Regions from separate parts of the Homo sapiens genome. Here region 2 is linked to region 1. Evidence: promoter capture Hi-C in human tissues and cell types (Jung and others, 2019). All regions are on one chromosome and are shown on one strand. Each heading gives the region's core, a stretch centred on a gene start or on the middle of the fragment in contact. The rest is flanking DNA. Distances are from core to core; before and after follow the strand shown. Region 1 holds the start of C8orf33 (chromosome 8 open reading frame 33). Region 2 overlaps ZNF250 (zinc finger protein 250).

What was found. The method cuts DNA at HindIII sites, captures the fragments that hold promoters and counts their contacts. A contact is called where the count stands out against the background at its distance.
Region 2: a fragment that was not itself captured here is called in contact with the fragment with the promoter of C8orf33 in region 1 in 3 of the 25 tissues and cell types used here (H1 embryonic stem cells, adrenal gland and dorsolateral prefrontal cortex).

What each region holds. Positions count from the first base shown.
Region 1 is chr8:145,049,825-145,055,756 of GRCh38, reverse strand. It overlaps C8orf33 (chromosome 8 open reading frame 33), which reads right to left and starts at 3,290. Exons shown (of 5, transcript NM_023080.3): 1 at 3,260-3,290; 2 at 2,860-3,171; 3 at 2,611-2,695; 4 at 2,314-2,460; 5 at 1-1,739. The coding sequence starts at 3,265. The coding sequence ends at 1,600. RefSeq lists enhancers at 1,916-2,716, 3,645-3,694, 3,735-3,864 and a silencer at 3,365-3,434. The HindIII fragment of the contact is 15,142 bases long and covers 1-5,932 here.
Region 2 is chr8:144,870,952-144,877,233 of GRCh38, reverse strand. It overlaps ZNF250 (zinc finger protein 250), which reads left to right. Exons shown (of 6, transcript NM_001109689.4): 6 at 1-279. Among named protein-coding and RNA genes, the nearest start is that of COMMD5, 21 kb to the right of the region's middle. The HindIII fragment of the contact is 4,568 bases long and covers 1-3,695 here.

The DNA.
Region 1 (5,932 bases), core at 2,041-4,540:
TCACTAATTTGCTCCTGCTATCTAAAAGGCAGAGCCAGGTATACAGGATGGAACATGAAAGCGGACTAGGAGCGTGACCACTGAAGCACAGCATCACAGGGAGACAGGCCTCTGGATAACTGCGGGCGGGCCTGACTGATGTCAGGCCCTCCACAAGAGGTGGAGGAGTAGTCTTCTCTAAACTCCCCCGGGGAAAGGGAGGCTCCTTTTCCCAGTCTGCTAAGTAGTGGGTGTTTTTCCTTGACACTGATGCTACTGCTAGACCATGGTCCACTTTGCAACAGGCATCTTCCCAGACACTGGTGTTACTGCTAGACCAAGCCCTCTGGTGGCCCTGTCCGGGCATAAGAGAAGGCTCACACTCTTGTCTTCTGGCCACTTCGCACTATGTCCCCTCGGCTCCTATCTCTGTATGGCCTGGTTTTTCCTAGGTTATGATTGTAGAGTGAGGATTATTATAATATTGGAATAAAGAGTAATTGCTATAAACTAATGATTAATGATACTCACATATAATCATGTCTATGATCTAGATCTAGTATAACTCTTCTTATTTTATATATTTTATTATACTGGAACAGCTCGTGCCCTCAGTCTCTTTCCTCGGCACCTGGGTGGCTTGCCACCCACATAGGCAGTCATGCCATTCACTGAAAAGCAGAAGCCAAAGGAAAACCGGAGCCTAATCAAGTGTTTTAAACACATCAGGTTTGAAATGCCTATGAAGCACCCAAGTGGAAATGCTGAGTAGGCAGCTGGGCTCCAGGTATCAATCTAGTCTGGGAACTGAGTTTGGAAGATACCAGCAAACATCAAGCCACCAATGAGGATTAGGTCACCTGGAGATTCCCAATTCCATGGAACAGAGGGCCTGAGACTGAATGGCCAACATTTAGACAAGAAGTCTGCCAAGGCTCAATCCAGGTCTCAGGCCAGAACTGTTAGCGCAAGAAGCTCCTTGCTCCTAAGAACAGAGCCTGGCCTGGTAGGTGCCATGCTGGTTCCCTGAGGATGATACCTGCTCAGGAATGAAGGCAACATGCACAAAGGTACCAGGTGAGGGACTGGACCCAGGGATACCACACCCCTGCATCTTCTGTACTTCCTCTAACATAGGTGGTCAGCATACTCTTTCACTCCTTATCCAATTTTATCAAAAATAGAGATTAGGGCAATATGACATAACAGCATTAAGCACTAAACCATTTGACAGGGATTCCTTTCAAAAGTGAAAACCAGTGTACGATTATACAGCTTCTCCACTAATCTTTGTTACCAACAGCCACTTAATCTAATCCTAAAGACTGAGTACAATATTCCTTCTACAATACTTTGAACACTCACTTCAATTTATTGCATATTTTCTAAATGCACCTCTCTCTCTCTTCTGAAAGAGAGAACATTTCATCAGAAAACGAACGGGGTCTTTTGCCTATCTGATGGTCTCACACCTTCACAACAGCTACAAATCCTTGGACCAGCCAGGGACAGACCAACTCCAGGGTTCTCTGACAACAGAAGTCCTGGAAAGGCTCTGCACTCAAAACAAACCCCTACACCACCCCAAGGGAGGGGGATTGTTTCAGGTTCGGGGAGACGCTAAAAGAAATTGAACCTAAACTCTTCATCAGGCATGTCCAGAGTGGCTTTGGCTCTCCATATAGAGCGAGGCCTGCAGACCCTTTGGCTCTTCTTTCTGGTGGCTCCATCTACAGGTTGCACCTGGGCTGAATAAGCAGCTGTCGGGGAGAGAAGCAGCGTATGTCAGAACTGAATAATAACAATTAACATTACCTGTACAGTTATGTTTGCCCATACAATTCTAACCACCTTGCATAAATTAACTGATTAATTCCTCAAATTTGTAAGGTTGATATTACTATCATCCCCCACTTAGAGAGGTTCAGTAGTTTGCAAAAGGTGTTAGTACTACTATGTGGTAGATCCAGGATTTGAACCTAGCTGATCTGGCCCCAGGAATTGCACTCAAACTGTTATGGGATATGGCTTCATTGCTAGTAGAGAAAGCCAAGACACAAAGACATGAGGCAGCTTTCCCCAACCCAGGAGCAGGACCAACATAGGACCATGCTCTTTCCCACTCCTCCCAGGGCCTCCCCGCTGCTTCCCAGGTTCAGTCCTAGGAAGAGGAAAGAGAGGTCCACGCTTTCTGTTTCCCTGCTCCCTCAGGCTTCCCTGAGCCCATCTCCTTCCCCCACCAGGCTTGTTGCTCTGGGCCTTCTTCCTTTCACCCCCTAGACACTTCCTCCTTAAGTTAGGCCTTCCTGAATCAACCAGTGGCTAGCTCCTCACCAGCTCTGAGAGCCCGCAGGGCCTCACGCCATTCGGCTTCCATCTGAGCCCTATAGTCTCCAAACAAGGAGTGCATCAGCTGCCTCTTCCGGGGCAAGGGCGTTCTTTTGCTGCGCAGGGTTCGGATTGCTCCAATAGCCTGCTCTTCTGCGAATAAAAATAAAGGACTAGTGAACACCTCTATTACTGACCTCCTACCACCCCGCCGCAAAGCCAACAACTCCATACTCTGCCAGCACCTGCAGGCCAGGCAGTGCCACTGTTCACATCCCCCAGCTCTACAGAAGGGTCCCTTACTCTGTTTCGGGGTGGGTTTCTGCCTCTTGAGGCCCAGCTCCAGTTGCTCCACACACCAAGCCAATTCCTGGGCCAACTGTTGTGCCTGTGATGGATTTGGGGAAGTGGCTGTGAGAGGGCACTGGAAAACCATAGCCGCCGGCCCCATCCCATGCCCCTCCCCGCCTTAACTCCGCGGACCCCAGATCACACGTGCCCGTGGATTCGCACCCGTGGATTCCACCCTTCCCGACCGAAGCCCGCCCTTGCCTGGGCCTCAGCGCTTAGGGGAACTTCTTCTGGGGCGAGTTTCTCTGAGGCCTTCTCGCCTCCATTTGCCACAGAGGCCCTGTTCCGCGTTTTCTTCTTATTCTTTTGTTTTTTCGACGCTGTGCCGCCTTCATCGCCCAACGGGTGCGCTCTGGAGTCAGCGTTACTGCACGTAGGTTGCTCTGGGCAGAGACAGACAGTGGAAGGATTCCGGGCGCTGGAAACTGGGCCGGGAAGCCGGGCTCCGCGGGACGCGCAGGGAGTACCCGGGCCTGGGGCCGCCGCTGCCTCCCCAGCAAGATGTCCCAGGGCCTGGAGAAAGGGGGGTAGCACGAGGGTCACCGAGAGCCGCCAACAATGCAAGGCCCAGCCACCCGCGCGTCTTCTCCACACCGCTCACCGCCATGCGCCGCAGTCGCCACCGGAACTACGCGGGGCGCAGAGTCCGACGCCGAATTCCGTCCTTCAAGAACGCGCCTGCGACTCTAGGTTCCGCGGGGCGCGGGCGGGGCGCGGGCGGGGCGCGGGCGGGGCGCGGGCGGGGCGCGGGCGGGGCGCGGGCGGGGCGCGGGCGGGGCGCGGGCGGGGCGCGGGCGGGGCGCGGGCGGGGCGGGGCGCGGGCGGGGCGCGGGCGGGGCGGGGAGCGGGCGGGGCGGGGCGCGGCTGGGGTGGGATGAAGCTGGGACGGGGCGAAGCTGGGACGCGCCTGGGACGAAGCTGAGATGGGGCTGGGGCGGGGCCTGGGGGTTCGGGGAAGAGGCTGAAGAGGGGTCTCGGAAGAACCCTTGTGAGCGAGTGATCGCGGGCGCTGACTACGTGCCCGGCACCTTTCCGGATAAAAGTTCAAAGCTCTCCACGAGGGTGTGTCTTCTCAAGGCTCACCTTTTGGTGGGGAGGGAAAAGCAAGTAAACAGCACGTGAGCAGCTACGGCGCAAGAGGGTGGTCGGCAAAGACCCTGGGAAATGGGGAAGAGCGAGGGTCAGGGCGCGGTCGTTTGAGAGGCCGGCGTCTCGGGACGTGGAGGCTCGGGTGAGGTCTGAGAGTTGGGAGGGCCCCCGTCATGGGCTTACTTCCGTTCTAACGCAGTGGGAAGTCGCTGCAAGATGTAAATCTGAAGAGTGGCATAATCGTAGACGTATGTTCTGCAGATCTCTCTGCTCTTGTGTAACGAGTGGGGCACATGGGGTGGAGGGACGTGGAGGGGTTTCAGAAGCAGACGCGGGAAGAGCCTTGGACAGGATATGGACGTGAGGGAGGGTGGCGGTATGGGGGAGAGGGAGAGCCCCATCCCACCACCTCTCTTCCCCTGGATGCTTCCCTCCCACTATACCTTGCTAGAGACCTGGGGTCACACACAACACTCGACCCCCGCCGATGGAGGCATGACAACCGAGAGGAATTGCGTAGGGGTTGAGGTGAGGCTGAGTAGGGTTTCAGGGGGGCAACGGGCTATGCCAGGAGGGTGGGTTGTGTTGCTTGAGAAGGTAAGAGTCCGAGATGTCTGATGATTCCTTTCGGGGACACAGGAGTGGAAAGCGGTGTTTCCTGAGACGGTGGGGTGGGAAGTGTTAGCTGCCTGGTCTGCAAGGTCTCGAAGGGTTACAGTTTGGTCATCACTGATAGTTATTTACTGCAGTGTGATACATTACTCCCAAAATTCGGCGGATTGGCCGGGCGCGGTGACTCACGCCTGTAATCCCAACACTTTGGGAGGCCGATGCGGGCGGATCACGAGGTTAGGAGTTTGAGACCATCCTGGCTAACATAGTGAAACCCCGTCTCTACTAAAAAATACCAAAAAATTAGCCGGGCATAGTGGCGGGCACTTGTAGTCCCAGCTACTCGGGAGGCTGAGGCAGGAGAATGGCATGAACCCGGGAGGTGGAGCTTGCAGTGAGCCAAGATCGCACCGCTGCACTACAGCCTGGGTGACAGAGCGAGACTCCATCTAAAAAAAAAAAAAAAAAAAAAACACGCAGAATTTAAACGGGACACGCAGTAAAGGAGATGCGGCATACAGTAATTTATTACAAAGGAGAAAGAATATTTGGAAAGTTAAGTGAACAATAGACAGTACACCCTGAGAGAGAGAGAGAGGATTGAGGGCCAGCTGCTCATAAGGTTGGGGCAGCAAAGACGCATGAGGGAGACTCCCTTTATGGGGGTCTTACATGATTATTCATAAGGAATTGGGAAGAGGTGCTACTAGTGAGTATGTTCTGGATGGTCCTCTGAGTGCACATGTGCGGTAGCTGTATGTTCTTACATGCTTGTTCATACAATGCTTCTTGTCATACAATGCTTGTTCTACATGCTGGTATATGATTGTTCGTACATGTCACATGTCTTATTAGCATCTTAAACCTCCAACCAGGGCTCTGTTTTTTACTATTATAATGAGCGAAAGGTCAGTCTGAGGACAGGTAAAATCAAAATGTACATGCTCTTTGCAGGGGAAATTCTCTACTGAAGATAGTTTTGCTTGAAAGAGCTTAACCACAATGTGAAGGCAGAGGCTTATTGTGCTGATTGCACAGTCACAACAGTTGCTGCATCCCGAGGACATGGTTACTTCCTTGACTACCTATCCTGCCTCACTTTCAATGCTCTGATTTTATCCATTACCTTCCTGACTCATATGCTATTTTTGTCTTGACTTCATTTCTATCTTTGTTTTTAAATCTGCCATATTAGACTTAATTCTATTTACAGTCAGTGTTTTCAAATATACAACTTTTGTTTTTCTTAGAGTCCATGTCTCACTCTGTCACCTAGGTTGTCCTGGGCTCAACTGATCCTCCCTCCTGCCTCAGCCTCCCAAGTAGCTGGGACCACAGGCATGCACCATCATACCAGCTAATTTTGTAATTTTTTGTAGAGATGGGGTCTCACCAGGATGCCCAGGCTGGTCTTGAACTCCTGGGCTCAAGCAATCTTCCCACCTCAGCCTCCCATGCCTGGCATCATTCCTTATATCTCAGTTCTGATATCATTTCTTTAAATGTACATCCTTTTAAAGCTCCTTTAATGAAATCTGTTATGGTGTTTTGGGTTTTGCTCATCTGAAAATGC
Region 2 (6,282 bases), core at 162-2,661, 180 kb after region 1:
GCGCCTGTAGTCCCAGATACGTGGGAGGCTAAGGTGGGAGGATTGATTGGGAGTTCAAGACTAGTGTGCTGTGATCATACTATCTAGCCTGGACAACAGAGAGAGACCTTGTCACAAAAAATACGTATATATTTCTTTTAAAATTGTTTCTTCTAACAGCTATTAAGAATTTGAAACTTGGTTCTCTTCAAATTTTCTATTATTTTGGAAAACATTTTAGTCTGCCTGGAATTTCTGTGTATAATCTGACGCTTTCCAATAAAAAAGTAATGACTGGAACAAGTATTTGCAGTGAAGAAAGATCAGTAACTTTGGCATAAAGATCTCCTACAAATCAGTGACCATAGGACATGAACAGACCACTCCAAATAAGAGAATATACAACCATGGAAGCTTGGAAAAGGCTCAAGTGTACCAATCCCAAAACAAATAACAACATGCTACCCACTAATCAGTTAGTAAAGATTATCCTGTAATGACCAGGTATGAGGAGATGTGTGCTTTCATGCATTGCTGATGATGTTATCAATTAATACAATCCTTTTTCCCTGGAATTTCTCTGGGCCATAAAGTGGCTTCTGCTGTGGCTATCCCATGTCCGGTGTGAGGAGACAGTGGTATGACTCATCCCTTTGTGTCCGGAATTGGTGGGTTCTTGGTCTCACTGACGTCAAGAATGAAGCTGCGGACCCTCGTGGTGAGTGTTACAGTTCTTAAAGGCAGTGTGTCTGGAGTTTGTTCGTTCTGATGTTCGGACGTGTTCAGAGTTTCTTCCTTCTGGTGGGTTCGTGGTCTCACTGGCTCAGGAGTGAAGCTGCAGACCTTCGCGGTCAGTGTTACAGCTCTTAAGGTGGTGCGTCTGGAGTTGTTCATTCCTCCCGGTGGGTTCATGGTCTCGATGGCTTCAGGAGTGAAGCTGCAGACCTTCGCGGTGAGTGTTACAGCTCGTAAAAGCAGTGTGGACCCAAAGAGTGAGCAGTAGCTAGATTTATTGCAAAGAGCAAAAGAACAAAGCTTCCACAGTGTGGAAGGTGACCCGAGCGGGTTGCCACTGCTGGCTCGGGCAGCCTGCTTTTATTCTCTTATCTGGCCCCACCCACATCCTGCTTGATTGGTCCATTTTACAGAGAGCCAATTGGTCTGTTTTACAGAGAGCTGATTGGTCCATTTTGACAGGGTGCTGATTGGTGCATTTACAATCCCTGAGCTAGACACAAAAGTTCTCCATGTCCCCACTGGATTAGCTAGATACAGAGTGCTGATTGGTGCATTTACAAACCTTGAGCTAGATACAGAGTGCTGATTTGTGTATTTACAATCCTTTAGCTAGACATAAAGGTTCTCCAAGTCCCCAACAGAGTAACTAGATACAGAGTGCCGATTGGCGCATTCACAAACCCTGAGCTAGACACAGGGTGCTGACAGGTGTGTTTACAAACCTTGAGCTAGATACAGAGTGCTGATTGGTGTATTTACAATCCCTTAGCTAGACATAAAGATTCTCCAAGTCCCCACCAGATTAACTAGATACAGAGTGACGAATGGTGCATTCACAAACCCTGAGCTAGACACAGAGTGCTGATTGGTGTGTTTACAATCCCTTAGCTAGACATAAAGGTTCTCCAAGTCCCCACTAGACTTAGGAGCCCAGCTGGCTTCACCCAGTGGATCCCACACCAGGGCCACAGGTGGAGCTGCCTGCCAGTCCTGTGCTGTGCGCCCGCACTCCTCAGCCCTTGGGTGGTCAATGGGACTGGGCGCTGTGGAGCAGGGAACGGTGCTTGTCAGGGAGGCTCAGGCCACGCAGGAGCCCACGGCGGGCAGGGGGAGCCTCAGGAATGGCAGGCTGCAGGTCCCGAGCCCTGCCCCATGGGGAGGCAGCTAAGGCCCAGTGAGAAGTCGAGCACAGCAGCTGCTGGCCCAGGTGCTAAGCCCCTCACTGCCCAGGGCTTGCAGGCCGGCCAGCAGCTCCGAGCGCGGGGCCTGCTGAGCCCATGCCCACCCGGAACTCACGCTGGCCCACAAGCACCGTGCGCAGCCCTGGTTCCCACCCACGCCTCTCCCTCCACACCTCCCTGCAAGCTGAGGGAGCCGGCTCCAGCCTTGGCCAGCTCAGAAAGGGGCTTCCACAGTGCAGCGGCAGGCTGAAGGGCTCCTCAAGCACAGCCAGAGTGGACGCCAAGGCCAAGGAGGCACCGAGAGCAAGCAAGGGCTGCCAGCATGCTGTCACCTCTCACCTTCTCTGGAGAAAGATGACAGCACACTGGGCTTGGCATGTGCCAGGCAGCCCTGAGGCATCCCTGAGAGAGAGGGGGCATTCCCAGAAAACAGGCTGGGAAATCTCTGGCCACCAACGGCCACTCAGTGTACAGAGGACCTGGTGATAGAAGCTGGGAATTTCTTGTCTAGGAGTTGGACTTGCCCTGGAGTGGGGGAAACTTTTGGGTGGTAGTAGTGTGTATTAAGCTTCTCTAGAGGCACAGAACTAATAGAAATATATATATATATATATATATATATATGGAAGAACTTGGAAGTCCGATGTTCTAGGGCAGGAAGCGTCCAGCATGGAAGAAAGATGTAGGCTGGGAGGCCAGGCCAGTCTCCTTTTCACGTTTTTCTGCCTGCTTTGTATTCACTGGCAGCTGATTAGATGGTGCCCACCAGATTAAGGGTGGGTCTGCCTTCCCCAGCCCACTGACTCGGATGTTGATATCCTTTGGCAACACCCTCGCATACACACCCAGGATTAATACTTTGCATTTGTTAATCCAATCAAGTTGACACTCAGTATTAACCATCACAAGTCCACCCCTTGTCAACTTGAACCCATACACATCTCCTGAGATCATACATAATCTTCAAATAAAGACACTAATAAGGTCATAATTATACCTAACATAATACAACTATCTTTTGTACAACTGGAAACAAACCAATCCCCAACCCAAATGCTATTACATAAAGTTAACAATACTTAAATGCTGATATGAAGTCAATAAATCTTATGTCACGTGATAAAGGAAAATGAAATAAAATGAAGATATTCTTAGTACAAGTGTTTACATGCACAAACTTTTTTTTTTTTCCCGAGACATAGTCACGCTCAGTTGCCCAGGCTGGAGTGCAGTGGCGCAATCTCAGATCACTGCAAGCTCCGCCTCCCGGGTTGATGCCTTTCTCCTGCCTCAGCCTCCTGAGTAGCTGGGACTACAGGTGCCCGCCACCATGCCCAGCTAATTTTTTGTATTTTTAGTAGAGATGAGATTTCACCGTGTTAGCCAGGATGGTCTCGATCTCCTGACCTCGTGATCCGTCCGTCTCGGCCTCCCAAAGTGCTGGGATTACAGGCATGAGCCACCGCGCCTGGCCAACACAAACATGTTTTTAACAAAAGAAGGAAAAATACTCATGACAATTACATCCCCTATTTTATGCATCATATGTTGACTTTGAGGGCTATATAATTGTTCTGGAATTAGAACTTGTGCTCCCCATTGTTGTAATAAATCTCTCCCCCATAAATTTATAGGTACAGAAGTTATAACTGGTTGGATAGTACCAGGTTGTCCATCAGGCCCTACACAATGCAAAATATAACTACTTTGATATACTTCAGGGGCTTTACCAATTCCAACTATGTTAAATTGGGTGGGTTGAATTGGCCACGTGGACGGCCACTGCTGTACAGAAATGATTGAAATGTCCACTCCTGTATCTACCAAACCTTTAAATTTCTTTCCCTGAATAGTTATTTCACAGGTAGGACGTTTATCAGTAACTTGCTTTACCCGATAAGCTGCTTTGCCTTGTTTATTTGTGCTTCCAAATCCTCCTGTTCATGTAACTTCACTTTTTCCCATTCCCACATATGGCACAATCAGGAGCTGTGCTATGCACTCTCCTGGCTCTGCTTTCCAGGGAACAGAAGTAGATATAACAATTTGAATTTCCCCATTGTAATCTGAATCAATGACTCCTGTATGTATTTGTACCCCTTTTAAATTTAAGCTAGACCTGCCTAGAAGTAATCCTATCATCCCTGCTGGCAAGGGTCCACAGACTCCTGTTGGGACCTTTTGTGGGGGTTCCCCAGGCAGAAGGCTCACAGCTTTTGTGCAGCATAAATCAACTGTGGCACTACTGGCTGTGGCAGAGGACAGACATTGTACAGGGGTGAGGGAATGGCCTGAGCTGGAAATGCCCCGGTTTAGAATGGGGCCTGGGATGGGCCCCTCATGGCGTTTCCCGAAATCGGGTTACCATCTTTATCAAACTTAGAGTGACACTTACTAGCCCAGTGTTTTCCTTTTTTACATTTTGGACATATTTCAGGCTCAACAGTTTTCTCTTTTCCCCTATCTGGCAGCATAACTCGCTGATTTTTTCTACATTCTTTTTTAGTATGACCATGCTTCCCACAGTTAAAACAAGCTCCAGGAAATAGAATATTTCCTTTATCCACTCTTAGTCCTGCCATTGCCTGTGCTAGCAGAGTAGCCTTATGCAGATTAATTCCAATACCATCACAGGCCTTGGTATAATCAACTAAATGTGCTTTCCCTCTGATAGGTCGCAGAGCTGCCAGGCAGTCGGGATTAGCATTGTTGAAAGCTAATAAGTGCAACACTATATCCTGAGCAGTCGAATCTGCAGTTACCTTTTTAAGAGACTCCTGTAACCGAGCTATAAAATCCATGTATGGTTTTTTTGGTCCCTGTTTTACTGCACTAAAGGAAGGGTATTGTTCTCCACATGAAGTGATTTTTTTCCCAAGCTCTAATGCACACTCCTCTAAGTTGTTCTATGGCATCATCCTGCATGACCACTTGTGCATCTAAACCAGCCCAGCCGCCAACCCCCAAAAGTTAGTCTTCAGTTATATTAATTTGGGCCTGGGCATTGCGAGCAGCCTGAATGGAAGCTTCATCTGCCCACCAAGTTTTAAATTGTAAGAACTGAGCAGGAGTTAGACAAGCTCGAGTAAGAGCATCCCAGTCAGTAGGAATCATCCAACTGGAAACAGCAACATTCTTTAACAGTCCCATTACAAAAGGAGAACCTGGTCCATACTGATTAACAGCTTGTTTAAATTCTTTAAATAATTTAAAAGGAAAAGGCTCAAATGTAACTATAATATTTCCCTGTTGATCTGGGGGGTGTATTCTAACAGGGAATTGCCAAGCCTCTAAATCGCCCTCTCATCTAGCTTGCTGAATTCCTGCCTGAATAGAACTAAGAGCAGTTGCTCAAGGCATTGCTCAGTCACTGGGGCAACTACTTTTCACCCAATGTCCTCTGGAAAAGAAAGATCTGGAGGGTCTTTTTCTTCAAAATAATAAGGAGGGGGTGCAGAAGGGTAGGGATGAACCTCTCCCTCCTTTGCCGCTTGAGCTTTAGCTGGCAAATTGGCAAATAAACCTGCTCTGTAACCTCTTCTGTTACTTCGTTTTACTCTCCTTCCTCCTCATCATCAGTGTGAAAAAGTTCCAAGGGAGAACGCACCAGACCCCACATTTGTCCCACTGTTACCCTGATGCTTCTGAGCTCCCCTTACTCACCACAGGGATGGCTTTAAGAGTACTTGGGTGTCCTCCAGCTTAGTTCCACATTCTCCGTTGCTCCAGTGACCCTTCAACCTGGATTCGAGCCCCCACAATGGACGTCACTTGCCGAGACCAGTTCAGTCAGGGAGACCCTAACCCAGCAGCACTAGAGGAATTAAAGACATACACACAGAAATATAGAGGTGTGAGGTGGAAAATCAGGGGTCTCACAGCCTTCAGAGCTGAGAGCCCCAACCGGAGATTTACCCATGTATTTATTAACAGCAAGCCAGTCATTAGCATTGTTTCTATAGTTATTAAATTAACTAAAAGTATCCCTTATGAGAAATGAAGGGATGGGCCAAGTTAAAGGAATAGGTTGGGCTAGTTAACTGCAGCAGGAGCATGTCCTTAAGGCACAGATCGCTCATGCTATTGTTTGTGGTTTAAGAATGCCTTTAAGCGGTTTTCCGCCCTGGGTGGGCCAGGTATTCCTTGCCCTCATTCCTGTAAACCTGCAACCTTCCAGCGTGGGCGTTATGGCCATCATGAAAATGTCACAGTGCTACAGAGATTTTGTTTATGGCCAGTTTTGGGGCCAGTTTATGGCCAGATTTTGGGGGGCCTGTTCCCAACACCAGGAGATGTGTTGATTTGCTCCAGCAATGAAACCACATCTGGTACGGCAGCTGCAATTGGAGTCACTACTTAGTTAAGCTCATCATAATCCACTGTC